Regions from separate parts of the Homo sapiens genome. Here all the other regions are linked to region 2. The links are contacts of gene promoters, found by promoter capture Hi-C in blood cells and fetal thymus (Javierre and others, 2016). All regions are on one chromosome and are shown on one strand. Each heading gives the region's core, a stretch centred on a gene start or on the middle of the fragment in contact. The rest is flanking DNA. Distances are from core to core; before and after follow the strand shown. Region 1 has its middle 14 kb from the start of ASRGL1. Region 2 holds the start of FADS1 (fatty acid desaturase 1). Region 3 has its middle 3.3 kb from the start of LINC02733. Region 4 holds the start of SCGB1D4 (secretoglobin family 1D member 4).

Region 1 (3,643 bases), core at 564-3,063, 510 kb before region 2:
GCCAAGCAGCTTCTCAATAGCTTGTGCTGTGGCTAACCCTGATGATGAAAAGGCAATATGGTGATAGCAAGATTTGAATCTCTGTTCTTTTCTGATGGGATAAACGAAACAGCCAAAGAGACTTCTTTTAGAGCACCATCATTTCTTAGCGTCTTCACCAGGGGTCGGTGAGATGAAGCAGCCACCCTCCAAGGCGGCCTCAGCCATCCTGACACCTCCAATGCGGAGGTGTGGGGTGCAGATACAGCGCTCTGGCCCCAAGGAGGCGCTGTTTCCCCAGGGATCGGCTGGCGGAGGCTTTGCAATGATGAAGTTGGCCTGTGGTGGGAGCCTCCTCCGTCTGTGGCCACCCTTCTTTGATACAAATAGTGTGCGCCTTGCGTAATGTCCTGGGTGACCTGTAATTTCCTCTTCTCACTCAGTAGTATATCTTGGACACCATTCTGTCTCAGCGCTATCGGTGGTTGTTTAGATTGTTTGCGATCTTAGCAAATGTAAACATATTTGTGATGGTCATGACGGTACCCACATTGCCCGGAGCCAGGGCTGTTTATAGAAATCACTCTTCATCTAGCCATAGGAGGCAGTCCTCACCTTCTCAGAAGGAGAACTGACTTACCTGGCTCTGGAAGTGGGCAGCGGGCTAGAGGGCACGTAAAGCTTTGCCTCTTCTTGGCTCTCCCAGCGGCTGGCCTGCCTTCAGGGTTAAGTCTTTTCCTCCTGCGACCTCTGGGGTATAATCTGCTGCAATTGTTAGAGCACTGCTGAAGGTAGGTAAGAGAGTTATTCTCATTTTCCACGTGCATGCATCCTCTGCTCTGCCCTCTGCACGTTTTTGTTTGTTTGTTTTGTTTTTTGTTTTTTTGACGGAGTTTCACTCTTGTCGCTCAGGCTGGAGTGCAATGGCGTGATCTCGGCTCACTGCAACCTTCGCCTCCTGGGTTCAAGTGATTCTCCTGCCTCAGCCTCCCGAGTAGCTGGGATTACAGGCGCCCGCCACCACGCCCAGATATTTTTTGTATTTTTAGTAAAGACAGGGTTTCACCAGGTTGGCCAGGCTGGTCTCGAACTCCTGACCTTGTGATCCACCCGCCTCGGCCTCCCAAAGTGCTGGGATTACAGGCGTGAGCCACCGCGCCCGGCCCTGGATTTTATATTTTTAAATGGTTAAAAAAATCAAAAGAAGAACAGTACTTTCTGACACATGGAAATTATGTGAAATCAAATTTCAGGGTTCAGAAATAAAGTCTTCTTGGGAAACAAACATATTTATATGAAAGGAAATCCAGGATGGAAATGGCTATGTCAGAGGCATCTAAAAAGTTGGTGGGTGGGTAGGAAGAGTTGGACCCAGGCCTATACACACCCAGACAGAATGTCACCTGTGGAACTGGGCCAAACTGTAAACATCCTGAAGAAGCAGGTACATTTAGTTTAACCTATTTATATTGGGCCTGATCACAAATCTCCTGGGGAGAGAGCTGTGCCAACATAAGCTGATCATCAGCTAGAGACATTCTAAGCTGTCAATCAATCACCATTAATCATAGACCATGCTAAGTTGTCCCACTTGTGTAAATTTACAGTAAACCTCTAAAACTCCTGCTCAACCTCACTTGGAGGGAACATGATTTAGCTGCTTGCTAGATTTGTGTCTCCCGCATTGCAATTCCTCTCTTGTTTGCTGCCCTGCAGGGTTTTTTTTTTTTTTTTGGTCGGGGGAGACGGAGTCTCGCTTTGTCCTCAGGCTGGAGTGCAGTGGCATGATCTAGGCTCACTGCAATCTCTGCCTCCTGGGTTCAAGTGATTTCCCTGCCTTAGCCTCTTGAGTAGCTGGGACTACAGGCGTGCACCACCATGCCCAGCTAATTTTTTGTATTTTAGTAGAGACAGGGTTTCACCATGTTGGCCAGGATGGTCTCGATCTCCTGACCTCATGATCCACCAGCCTCAGCCTCCCAAATTGTTGGGATTACAGGCATGAGCCACCATGTCCAGCCCTTATTTCTCATTAGTTGACACTCATTTGTTTGTTACATATTGTCTCTGGCTGCTTTCACCCTAGAGTGGCAGGGTTGAGTAGCTGGAACAGACGATGGTGGCCTACAAAGCCTCACATATTTTCTTCCTGGCCCATTGCAGAAAGTTTGTTGATCCTGAGTTAGGCGATTGACACTTTTCTTTCTTCTACACTTATTAGCCTTTCCAGAAGTATGTGTAATGAGAGGAGGATTCTCTCCTTTGCATGTTGGTCTAGCTAGTTGATTAGCTATTTGATCTAGCTAATGGTGTAGCTAATTAGAGATGGCAGGTAGTTAGCAAACATTTTACTTAGATTATCATTTAGACCTCCATTACTGTAGAGCTGTGTAGAGCAGTGTATTAGTTGGGGTTCTCTAGAGAGACAGAACCAATAGGAGATTATATATAACTATATGTTTGTATAAATATATAGGGGGATTTGTTAGGGGAATTGGCTTATGTGAGGATGGAGGCTGAGAAGTCCCATGGCAGGCCAGCTGCAAGCTGGAGAACCAGGGAAGCCTGAAGCGTGTCTCAGTCCAAGCCCAAAGGCCTGAGAACCAGACAAGTTGATATTGTGAAATGGAAGTCTGAGGCTGAAGGCCTGAGAAACTGGGAGGCAGCTGATGTATGTTCCAGAGTCCAAAGGCCAGAGAACCTGAAGTTCCTATTGCCTAGGGCAGGAGAAGAAGGGTGTCCCAGCTCCAGCAGAGAGACAGCAAGAGCAAATTCACCCTTTGTCTGCCTTTCTGTTCTACGTGGGCCCTCAGCTGATTGGGCCCACACTGGGTGAGGGTGGATCTTCCCAGTGATTCAAATGCCAACCTCTTCTGAATACACCCTCACAGACACACCCACAGATAGTGGTTTACCAGCTATCTGGGTATCCCTTAATCCAGTCAAGCTGACACCTGAAATTAACCTTCACAAGCAGGGAAAGCTTAAAATGAAGCCTGAGTGTTCCATTCCTGTGCATCTTAGGGTCAAGGGCCCGTGCTGAAATTCCTGTGCCGAGTGTCTGCCTGGGGTGACCCTGGCAGCCTCACTTGCTTCTTCTGAGCTGGACTAACATTGTTATCCTCCCTATGCTCAAATAAATCTAGACCATTCTCTTCCAGGAGCCACTCTAGAATATGTTCCTTTCAATTGATTAATGAGAAGAAATAATGTATGTGAAAGTACTTTATGAGATGTAGAATAGAATAATATATTGGACATGATTATTATTTTATAAAATAGTCTTGGCTGAGTTCATTTAATTTGCCTGACACACCCTGGAGCAGCCTTTCCAGCCACCAGCTGATGTCTTCCTCCAGGTTATCCTGGGCTCCTTCTCTGCTGCTCGTGTTGTGTTCTGCCCTTTGGACAAAGAAGGGTGTGCTTGCTGACCCAGAGCTGCCTTTCCTTGTTGGCATTCCTGTTGTTTTATTTTTGTTTTTGTTTGTGTTTCTTTGTGAGATGGAATTTTGCTCTTGTTGCCCAGGCTGGAGTGCAATGGTGCGATCTCGGCTTAACTGCAACCTCTGCCTCCCGGGTTCAAGCAATTCTCCCACCTCAGCTTCCCAAGTAGCTGGGATTACTGGCATGTGCCACCATGTCCAGCTGATTTTGTATTTTTAGT
Region 2 (3,634 bases), core at 861-3,360:
CACGAGGTCAGGAGATCAAAGCCATCCTGGCTAACATGGTGAAACCCCAACTCTACTAAAAATACAAAAACAAAATTAGCTGGGCGTGGTGGCGGGCACCTGTAGTCCCAGCTACTTGGGAGGCTAAGGCAGGAGAATGCCATGAACCTGGGAGGTGGAGCTTGCAGCAAGCTGAGATCAGGCCACTGCACTCCAGCCTGGGCGACAGAGCGAGACTCCATCTCAAAAAAAAAAAAAATCTTAAATTTCTATATAAGTTGTCAAACTATTTTTTCCAGTTTAATCAACTTACACTTCTACCAGCAGTATGAGAGCTTTTATCCCACTGCACAGTCACATAGGAAAAATGGTTTATGTAAAGGACCTCTCTTCTGTTATTTAATACCCATGAATTTCTTATATAGTTGTAATCAGCGAACCCATACTACTTTGGGTTCTGCTTATTTCACGGGGAAGGATTCTATATCTATCAATATAGTTCACATTCTAGCCATTTAAAATCATTCTTTAATTCTTCATTGTGTTAACAGATCCCAATAAGCTTGGCGATTTTCTTATTGTCAGGACTCGGGTTTATTTCCAGTTTTTGCTATTAAATTGGCTATTTCTGCATCTTTGCACAGTCTCCCCTACTTTACCAAGAGTGAAACTGCTTGATCAAAGAATAGAAAATGTTTTGTAGCTCGCATTAGACACTGCCAAGTTGTTGGGCAAGGTTTTTAAAAAAGGAATATTGGCTGTACAGAGGTGCAGCTGTGTGGACCATCATTCCTGAGCAGGGTCCAATAGCCTGGCATCTTACCTGGAAGTCAGGACATCTAAACTTCCCTATGGGAACTTGGTAAGCCCCTTCCCCATTTCGAACCTCAATTTTCTTATCTATAAAATGAAGAATTTGGATGGAATGAATTAATCCTTTTCTACCAGAAATCTAGCCATATTTCACCTAGTCTATTCTGTATCACCCTCTCCTGACTCCTACGTGCTCAGAATCTAGCTCAGTGCTTGGGACAGTTATGTTTCCTTTCCCTTTGAAGTGCCCAAATACCAGTGTAATGAGAAATATGGCAGAGCCTGAGAGTTCAGAGCACAGGCCAGGGTCAAATCTCAGCCCTCCACTTACAAGCTGTGTGACAAAATAACCTCCCCCGGGCTCAGTTTCTTCACTGTAAATTAGGTTAATTGTTCCAACCTCATAGGGTTGTTAGGAGAATTAAATGAGTTAAGGTTTGCAAAACGCTAAGAACAGTGCCTGGCACACAGTAAGTGCTTTATAAAGTGTTTGTTGAATAAATAAAATTTTGGACCTAAACTCTGGGTCTCTTCAGGACTGCAACAGCTTTGTAACTGGCAACCCCACTTTTAGGTGCGTTCCCACTCCTCTAAAACCCAGAGATCTAAATGCCAAATCTCTCTGCTTAAAAAGTCTCCCAGGGCTCCTAGGCGCCTCCAGGCTAGAACAGAAATGCCTCAGCTTGAAGACCCAGGCTTTTCAGGTGAAACACCTAAGGGTCAGGAGACGCTAGGATCATCACTCAAGGATCCCAGTGAATTTTTCCAAAATACAATAAAAATAAAAACAAAAAGAGGCAAACAGGGTTATAAAAATTGTGGGGCATTTTAAATGTTTCATTGAACAAATTAAAGCATTAACAGCCCTCCCCCAACCACCACCAAGCCCAAGAGACCGTAAATATGCTGTTCACAAGATAACTGCAACTTTCAAGGGCTCTCAGGCTGCTACTTCGGGCAGCACAATTGGCGGCACGACGTGGCAAGCAGGCAGTAGTTTCCAACCCTGGAGGGTCAGCGTCTGGAGACCCCGGCCAAGGCATCCACAGCCTAAAGATGATGTCCGCGACCGCCCGGGCAGCCTCGTGCACGGAAAAACCTCAACCCCGGCCCCGCCCACCCTTCCTGCGGCCACCCCGCAGCCCTGGCCCCTCAGTCCATTCACTCCTGCAGCGCGGCCCCGCACCCAGGGCCTGCACTAGAACCGCTGTTCCTACCGCGGCGCCCCCTGGGAGCCAACGCCGCGATGCCCGCCTGACGTCAGGAAGTCGAATCCGGCGGCGACGCCTTTAGGGAGCCCGCGAGGGGGCGCGTGTTGGCAGCCCAGCTGTGAGTTGCCCAAGACCCACCGGGGGACGGGATCTCGCTCCCCGCGCCACGAGGCTCGGCCAATGGGAACGCGCGCTGCGAGGCCCGCCGGTCTGCCCTGCGGTGCTGAAAACCCGGCGCGCAGGCGGCTGGCTCTGGGCGCGCGCCAGCAAATCCACTCCTGGAGCCCGCGGACCCCGAGCACGCGCCTGACAGCCCCTGCTGGCCCGGCGCGCGGCGTCGCCAGGCCAGCTATGGCCCCCGACCCGGTGGCCGCCGAGACCGCGGCTCAGGGACCTACCCCGCGCTACTTCACCTGGGACGAGGTGGCCCAGCGCTCAGGGTGCGAGGAGCGGTGGCTAGTGATCGACCGTAAGGTGTACAACATCAGCGAGTTCACCCGCCGGCATCCAGGGGGCTCCCGGGTCATCAGCCACTACGCCGGGCAGGATGCCACGGTGAGCGCAGCCAGGCGGGGGCACAGGAGAGGGCGGGACCGGAGGCTGAGTGCAGGGGAGACAGAGTTACGCACTCCGAGCCAAACACCGACTAATTCGGAGGAAAGCCCGGAGGCGCCTGATCATACCTGTTGCCCGGTGATTGGGTGTCCTGCGGATGCGGGATGAAAAGGCGGGAGAGAGGCCTGGAGAAGTGGAGTCTGGGGAGTGGGGATGGAGGCCAACAACACGCACACACAAACAAAGGGTCCCGCCTCCCTGCCGTGCATTCCATCTGCAGCCCCGAGCCTCAGGTCTCTGGGCGGGGACAGAACCCCGAGCTGGGTAGGCTAGGAGGGAGGAGAGCAAGGATGCAGGCCGCCTGGGGAGGGAGGGGGTCAGTGGCCAGGGGAGGGAGTCACATCCTGTCTCGATGGCTAGGAGAGGCAGCGCAGCCGCGTCTGGACCTAGGTGCCGGTCTCCACTCGCCAGCAGGAGCGGAGAGGGAGCAGGAAAGGAGCCCATTCTCGAGGATGGGGCTGAAACGGGAAGCTTGGGGAGACCGCTGCCTTGGGGACCCCTGCGTCGTGTGAAGACTGGAGGACGCGGAAGGGACAGCGCTGGCCGGGGAGGGCAAGCGGCCGCTGGCGTACATAAGGGATTGGGAATGGCATACACTTAGCGAGGACCCCCAGAGCTGTTCTCGAATCGCCGGGGAGGCCACTGAGCCGCAGGCCAGCGAGGTCTTCAGCTATTCCGCGGAGCGGACCGCTGTTTACGCTCTGGGGCGGTAGGCCCTTCGCGGGGTCCTGTCCCTTCTTCCCTTGGTCTCACTGCGGGGTCGGCGCGCGCCCCAGCCCCAGGCCTGCTGCTTCCCTTTCTAGACCACAGCCCTCAGAGCTAAGGCCCCGGCGCCTCTCTGCTGGGTTGGAGTCCTGGGGACTCAGTCCTAGGGACTCGAAAGTCGGGGCGTTCCCTTCACCGCGTTTCCCCCTTGGCGGCCAGAATGGCGTCCCCTCCCCTTGCATCCCCCTCTGATCCCGTGCCCTGCAGCGTGATGCCCTCCACTGTCCCTATCCACTACCCTGGCGTCCCAG
Region 3 (3,692 bases), core at 201-2,700, 270 kb before region 2:
CATGTAAACTTGAAAAATAATTTGACTAGTTTTTCCTTTTTCTGATAAAGTATTTTATTTCAATGCTTTTATTTTTCTTTAAGCCAATTAATTAGACCTCTTTTATATATTTTTGGTAGTGAAACATTGTGTATACAACACATAAATACATAGATGTATTAGGAATGCCAATAGAAATACATCTTATAGGTTGGGTGCAGTGGCTCACGCCTATAATCCCAGCACTTTGGGAGGCTAACATGGGTGGATCACCTGAGATCAGGAGCTTGAGACCAGCCTGACCAACATGGTGAAACCCCACCTCTACTAAAAATACAAAAAATTAGCCGGGCATGGTTGTGGGCTCTTGTAATCCCAGCTACTCAGGAGGCTGAGGCAGGAGAACTGTTTGAACCTGGGGGATGGAGGTTGCAGTGAGCCAAGATCGTGCCACTGCATTCCAGCCTGGGCAACAGAGAGAGACTCTGTCTCAAAAAAAAAAAAAAAAAAAAAAGGCCAGGCGCAGTGGCTCATGCTTGTAATCCCAGCACTTTGGGAGGCTGAGGTGGGCAGATCACGAGGTCAGGAGTTTGAGACCAGTCTGGCCAACATAGTGGAACCCTGTCTCTACTAAAAATAAAAAAAATTATCTGGGTGTGGTGGCGGGCACCTGTAATCCCAGCTACTTGGGAGGCTGAGGCAGGAGAATCGTTTGAAGCTGGGAGCGGAGGTTGTAGTAAGCCATGATTGCGCCACTGCACTCCAGGCCAGTGGACAGTGCGAGACTCCATCTCAAAAAAAAAAAAAAAAAAAAAAAAAAGAATTACATCTTATAGACTTAATAAACACACCTTTTTTTTTTTTTCCTATCTTAGACTTTCAGATACTTGATAACCTGTTTCACAACACTAGGCAGTTGTCAGTTAAATAGCCTTAAATGTGCATATTAAAGGAAAGAACTCAGCTGAAAATCAAATAGAAAAATTTACATCATAAGGTACAGAGAGTAAAAGTCTGGTGGTGCTAGAGGAAGATTAAAGATGGATGCCAAATTGAACATAAAATTATAGAAATCTATCATAGGATTGTATAAGGGGATCAATTTTATTTAGATAGGGCCTACTTATCTTTTAACTGGATCTCTGAGCTCTGGGAAAGCCCACGTTGAATCTTGGGTCTCCAAAAAGGGAGAATTATTATGAGGTTAGACCATGTGATGCTTTTACTGTACACTTAAAAAACATTTTTTTTCGACAAAGACATTTCCAAGTGTCTAAACCACACTTTTCCTCAAAAACCCAAAAGTAAGGCCAGGCACAGTTCCTCATGCCTACAATCCCAGCACTTTGGGAGGCCGAGATGGGTGAATTGCTTGAGCCCAGGAATTCAAGACCAGCCTGGGCATTAGAGTGAGACTGCATCCCTACCAAAAAAAAAAAAAAGAATTAAATAAAATAAAAAGAAGGGATGCAGGCCTGATAACACCTTGGTTTTTAGCTCATAAAGACCCATTTTGGACCTCTGACCCCAGAACTATAAGATAATAAATGTGTGGGGTGGTTTTGGTTTTTGGAATTTTTTTCTTTTTCTTCTTTCTTTCTTTATTTTTTAGAGACAAGGTCTCACTGTGTTGCCAGGCTGGTCTCAAACTCCTGAGCTCAAGCAATTTTCTCACCTCGGCCCCCCAAAGTGCTGGGATTACAGGCATGCACCACTGAGCCCAGCCTTGTGTTGTTTTAAACCACGAAATTTGTGGTAATTTGTTTCAACAACCATAGGAAATTATTTCACCCACCCTGCTTGTTTGTTTTCTCTTTCTGCTGTCTGAAGTTTCTCCCTTTCAGTTTTAGAGCTGAGAAGATCTATCAAACATGAATTTGGCCACAAGCTGACTCTTTCTCTAGGGGTAAATCTTGACCATTTACTAAAATGGGGAAAACAGATCAGTAATGACAGGAGTGAAGAGAAGGCTAGCTAGTGTATGTCCAGTGCTTTGTAAAGTTGCAAGGCTTTTTTCCTAAACCACACATATCCCACATATACACCTAAAAACCTAACACTACAAGGCCATACATGAATTGCCAGAATTATACAGACCTTTTCTGAAATGGTTATAACCTGAATGGTATAAGCATTGGACAAAAACACGTTGAAATCTGAGATCTCTGCAGTTGTATCCCCACAATATTTGAAGAAATAATTTATTGCCAGGCATGATGGCTCACGCCTGTAATCCCAACACTTTGCGAGGCCAAGGCGGGCGGATCACGAGGTCAGGAGTTCGAGATCAGCCTGGCCAATATGGTGAAACCCCGTCTCTACTAAAAATACAAAAATTAGCCAGGCATGGTAGTGGGAGCCTGTAATCCCAGCTACCTGGGAGGCTGAGGCAGGAGAATTGCTTGAACCCGGGAGGCGGAGGTTGCAGTGAGCCGAGATCACGTCACTGCACTCCAGCCTAGGTGACAGAGTGAGACTCCATCTCAAAAAATAAATAAATAAATAAATAAATAAATAAATAAATAAATAAAATAAATATGATTGGGTACGATCTAACACTAACAGGCTGAATGGGGAAACCCAACAAGGCCCATCTGATCAGATTCTTCTTGGTCTCTCTGTGCAGCATTCCTTCCAGGGAATAGGGCAGGACCTGTCTGAAATGAGGGTATTGTGACCTACAATCAAAGTAGGCCAGAGAATTTCCTCATGACCAGCTCCTAGACAGAAAGATAGGAAAAGAAGCAGGTAAAAGGTGGGGAGAAAAAAGGAGCAGGTAAAAGGTGGGCAGGAGAAGGTCAGAGAGAGAGAGAGAGATTCTGTTTCCTGAAGCCTGCTTGTGAGAACTAAAGTGCCCTAACATTATAACAGAAACTGTAATAACAAGAGCTATGGGAGTTATAAGCCAAGAATCATGGGTGAAAACATTTTATATATATATATATGAAAGACATATATATGTTTATAACACATATGTATATGAAATGCATACATATATGAGACACACATATATGTTTTTTCATCCATGGTTCTTGGTTTTATATAAATATCACAACATGTATTTTCAAAAGTGTGAAGCAATTGAAATTCTCCTACTTGAGGACCATAAATAGTTTAATCACTTTATTTTATTTATTTATTTATTTATTTATTTTAGACAGAGTCTCGCTTTGTTGCCCAGGCTGGAGTGCAACAGTGCAATCTCTACTCACTGCAACCTCTGCCTCCCAAGTTCAAGCAATTCTCGTGCCTCAGCCTCCCAAGTAACTGGGATTACAGGCGCCTGCCACCACGCCTGGCTAATTTTTGTATTTTTAGTAGAGACGGGGTTTCACCATGTTGGCCAGGCTGGTCTCAAACTCCAGACCCCAGGTGATCTGCTTATCTTGGCCTCCCAAAGTGCAGGCATTACAGGCGTGAGCCACTGCGCCCGGCCTAGTTTAATCACTTTAGAGAGCACCAGCAACATCCAGTATAGCTGACAATGCGAATAATACACACCCCAGCAACTCTACTCTTGGTCTGACCTTAAAGCAAAGATTCTCAGCCCTGGCTCCATGTTAAAAAACGCCTGGGAGAGTTTTGTTTTTATTTTTTAAATCTGATGTCTCAGGTCCACACTCAGAAATTTTGATTTCATCTGTTCTGTGATGAGGCCCAGAAATGGTCTTTTAAAAGCTTCCTCGGAGCTTTTAAATGTGTACCCTGCCCAA
Region 4 (3,437 bases), core at 864-3,363, 480 kb before region 2:
GTCCATGGATGGAAAGAATAAACTAAAATCTTGAGTCAATTGTGTAAAAAGGAGGGAGCCATAAAAAGCATCAATGATGAAAACAAAAAAACCCTGCATAGGTGTTAATCGTGGTAGGACTAATAAAAGTATACGCAAACAATCCTCTGTCAGAGATACACATGCTCCCCAATGGACTGTACAGATGACAAGGTGAATGTCAAGCCTGAGTGAGGATAAACTCTCATCCACAAAAAGGGTGGATGCTTCACAGACCTGTCTACTGCAAAAGAGGCCTCAGTCCTGAAGCCCATATTCATGGGTTTGCAGCCTCCAAGACCATGAGCTGGGTTTCCTTTTCCATTTATGTCAAAGAGAAATGGTGTATCTAGGTGTCCGTGTAGTTCTGCAAGTAGGTGATTTAGTGGATTTTGGCTGTGCTCTAAACTAGGAACTACTGGCAAACCATGACATATATGACAAATGGGACAAGATAATGGCAGTTTACATTGAGAACTACTATGTACCAGAACTTGGTATATTTTAAACACACACACACCCATGAACACACTCATTTGATCATCTATCAACCCAATGATGTAGGCACCATTAGTAGCCTACTTTGACAAATGAGAAAACTGGGGTTACATAAACTGAATAATTTTCCTAAGGTCCAGGAGCCCATAAATGAGGATCTGAACCCTCATAGCTGTAAACCTCACCACCAACCCTCCCCCTCCTTGGTGGCAGCAGGGCTGATTCAGGGACTCCGTCGTCATCCTGTGTGATGAAAGTGAGATCCACTGTTGCCCTCAGCTTGGACTCAACTAAATCTGTCAATGTGTCTTTGATGACAAAACCCGTAAGGTCCCCTTCCTTCTTAAAGGTTTTCCTGGCTGGATCTCAGCCCTGCTGTCTGTGAGAAACACCAGAGCAGTTTAAACAGTACAGAAAGGAGGGATTCACCCCAATGCTACTGAATCAAAATCGCCAGAGAGAGAAGCCTGTGGGGTCAGTATGTTTTAAAAGCTCCAAGTGATTTGACTACATAGCTGAGAATGGAAAGCTATGGCCTGGGCTGTGACTCCTCTCAAATGTAAGTTTATTTAAGAGAAAAATTTCTGGTGATTAAACTCACACCACATGAAGGCACGGCAATGGGAGGGAAGGCGGGTGTGTATTGCTTTGTCTGGGGGCTTCCTTCACTTTCCCTTAAAAATGGGATTGGCCCAGGCAGCACAGATAGGTTTGAAGTGGAAAACTTGAGCCTAGGGGTTAGGGGGAAGTGACCACCCACCCTGTTCCTCTGTCTCTTCCCTTCTATTATCTTCCCAGCCTAGAGCCCCACTGATGTATGATTGGCTCTGAACACTCCAAAAGCTCTTGAGAAAAAGAGTTAGGTTATTTAATCTTCAGATCAGCCCTAAGATAAGACGTGGGTGGCTACACATCACAGAAAGCTTGCTTTTTATAGATAGAAAATGTGAATCTTGGCCATATATATAACTGCACGTATAAACAAGATTCAGGTTTGGGAGTGAGGCAGGCTAGAGAACAGGTGCAGCAGATGTTTTTCCTCAGCATATCTTCTACAGGTGGGATGTATTCAACTATGTTTTCAGTACCTATGCAGTGAACATGGTGGTGATGGAAGGGGCTGAGGGGAAGGATTAGACTTTCCCAATGTGCAACTGAAACAAGCCTGCTTGTTGTCAGACATGCAGGGGGATCAAAGCAGGGTCTCCTTATGTCCCTGCTCTCCCATAAAGAGAACACAGCCTTCCAGCTTCCTGTGCCTTGTGAAGCCATAATTCACCTGTGCCCCTGCACTGCTACAAAGATAAAAAGAACTAATCAGCAAAAGCTCATAAGGAAATTGAGGATCCCAGGAACATTTCCAGATGTACCTGAACACTCACCTGGAGCACAGAGCAGAGTTCTCACAAGGCTGCTGTCTTGTGCTCCGCCCCACTCAGATGCAGAGATTCCTAAGGAGGTGACATTGATGGACGGCAGCAGCCCTGGCTTGGAAGGGCGGGCTGGGAGCCAGGCCTCATGACCTACCAGGTGCCCCGGTAGGTAGGACCAGCCAGGCTCCCTAGGTACAAATAGCCCTGGCCTCCATGACTACACAGGCTCCTGGAGTCGAATCCAAATCACTCATTGTGAAAGCTGAGCTCACAGCCGAATAAGCCACCATGAGGCTGTCAGTGTGTCTCCTGATGGTCTCGCTGGCCCTTTGCTGCTACCAGGGTGAGTACATCAGTCATGAGTCCAGCACCAGCCCCTGGGATGCACCCTCTTCTGAGCACAAGATCACCTATTTGTGCTTTGGGTTGGGGTCTGCACAAAACCAAACAAAATTCCAAACCCTTTTCTGTGCTTGTTGAATAAGATTCATAAAGGTTAGAGCTATTTCTTCTTTCTTCTTCCTTTTTTTTTTTTTTTTTTTGAGAAGTTTTGCTCTTGTTGCCCAGGCTGGAGTGCAGTGGCATGATCTTGGCTCACTGCAACCTCTGCCTCCGGGGTTCAAGTGATTCTCCTGCCTCAGCCTTCCTGAGCAGCTGGGATTACAGGCATGGGCCACCACAGCTGGCTAATTTTGTATTTTTAGTAGAGATGGGGTTTCTCCATGTTGGTCAGGCTGGTCTCGAACTCCCGACCTCAGATGATCTGCCCGCCTCGGCCTCCTAAAGTGCTGGGATAACAGGCATGAGCTACTGCGCCTGGCTGCTTAGAGCTATTTCTTCTAATCCCCAGTATCTAAGAAGTTTTATAGAAAAATCAGTTCAGGCAAATGTTAGGAATTCTTCTGCCTGAGCTTCACTTCTGAATGGGATCTGTGTCAGATGATGTAATGTGAGGTCTGGGGTGAACCTGGGCTTCGACACTTCCCACCCCTTGATCTTGGGCACAATGCTCACCCTCCTTGAGCCTCCTCTTATCACTGGTGGTTAAAGCTTCTGCCAGGAGTGGCTATGAGAATGAAGTAAGGTTATGGTTGTCAAGAGTCAAGCTGTGGGCCAGGCATGGTGTCTCATTCCTGTAATCTTAGCACTTTGGGAGGCCACAGTGGGCAGATCACTTGAGCTCAGGAGTTCAGCACCAGCCTGGGCAACATGGCGAAACCCCATCTCTACAAAAAAAAAAAACAAAACAAAACACACACACACACACACACACACACACACACACACAAAAGCGGGCATGGTGGCAGGCACTGGTAGTCTCAGCTACTTTGGGGGCTGAGGGAGGATCGCTTGAGCCCAAGACATTCAGGCTGCAGTGAGCCGAGATTGTGCCACTGCATTCCAGTCTGGGTGAACCTATCTCAAAAAAAAGAAAAAGAAGTCTAGCTGAGGATATGAAGCTCTTCCCTTTGTTGTGTGACCCGGAGAAAGTCACACCTGGAGTTTCTGGTATTGTCATCAGCACAATAATGGTATAGAAACATAGAA

The links. The method cuts DNA at HindIII sites, captures the fragments that hold promoters and counts their contacts. A CHiCAGO score of 5 or more calls a contact.
Region 1: a fragment that was not itself captured here is called in contact with the fragment with the promoter of FADS1 in region 2 in 1 of 17 cell types (naive B cells); the score reaches 5.2 in naive B cells.
Region 3: a contact is called between a fragment that was not itself captured here and the fragment with the promoter of FADS1 in region 2, in 10 of 17 cell types (neutrophils, naive CD4 T cells, endothelial precursors and 7 more). The highest score is 15.1, in neutrophils.
Region 4: the fragment with the promoter of SCGB1D4 here is called in contact with the fragment with the promoter of FADS1 in region 2 in 13 of 17 cell types (total CD4 T cells, total CD8 T cells, non-activated CD4 T cells and 10 more); the score reaches 12.5 in total CD4 T cells.

Annotation. Positions count from the first base shown.
Region 1 is chr11:62,321,730-62,325,372 of GRCh38, reverse strand. No RefSeq gene overlaps it. Among named protein-coding and RNA genes, the nearest start is that of ASRGL1, 14 kb to the left of the region's middle. RefSeq lists an enhancer at 1-190. The HindIII fragment of the contact is 2,302 bases long and covers 663-2,964 here.
Region 2 is chr11:61,815,479-61,819,112 of GRCh38, reverse strand. FADS1 (fatty acid desaturase 1) reads left to right here and starts at 2,110. Exons shown (of 12, transcript NM_013402.7): 1 at 2,110-2,558. The coding sequence starts at 2,184. It overlaps LOC124902680 (a long non-coding RNA gene), which reads right to left and starts at 1,093. Exons shown (of 2, transcript XR_007062696.1): 1 at 1-1,093. It also overlaps a transcript of FADS2 not described here. RefSeq lists silencers at 1,749-1,848, 2,189-2,388 and an enhancer at 2,909-3,634. The HindIII fragment of the contact is 2,548 bases long and covers 544-3,091 here.
Region 3 is chr11:62,083,798-62,087,489 of GRCh38, reverse strand. No RefSeq gene overlaps it. Among named protein-coding and RNA genes, the nearest start is that of LINC02733, 3.3 kb to the right of the region's middle. The HindIII fragment of the contact is 4,419 bases long and covers 1-3,659 here.
Region 4 is chr11:62,297,751-62,301,187 of GRCh38, reverse strand. It overlaps SCGB1D4 (secretoglobin family 1D member 4), which reads left to right and starts at 2,113. Exons shown (of 3, transcript NM_206998.2): 1 at 2,113-2,232. The coding sequence starts at 2,178. The HindIII fragment of the contact is 1,500 bases long and covers 1,442-2,941 here.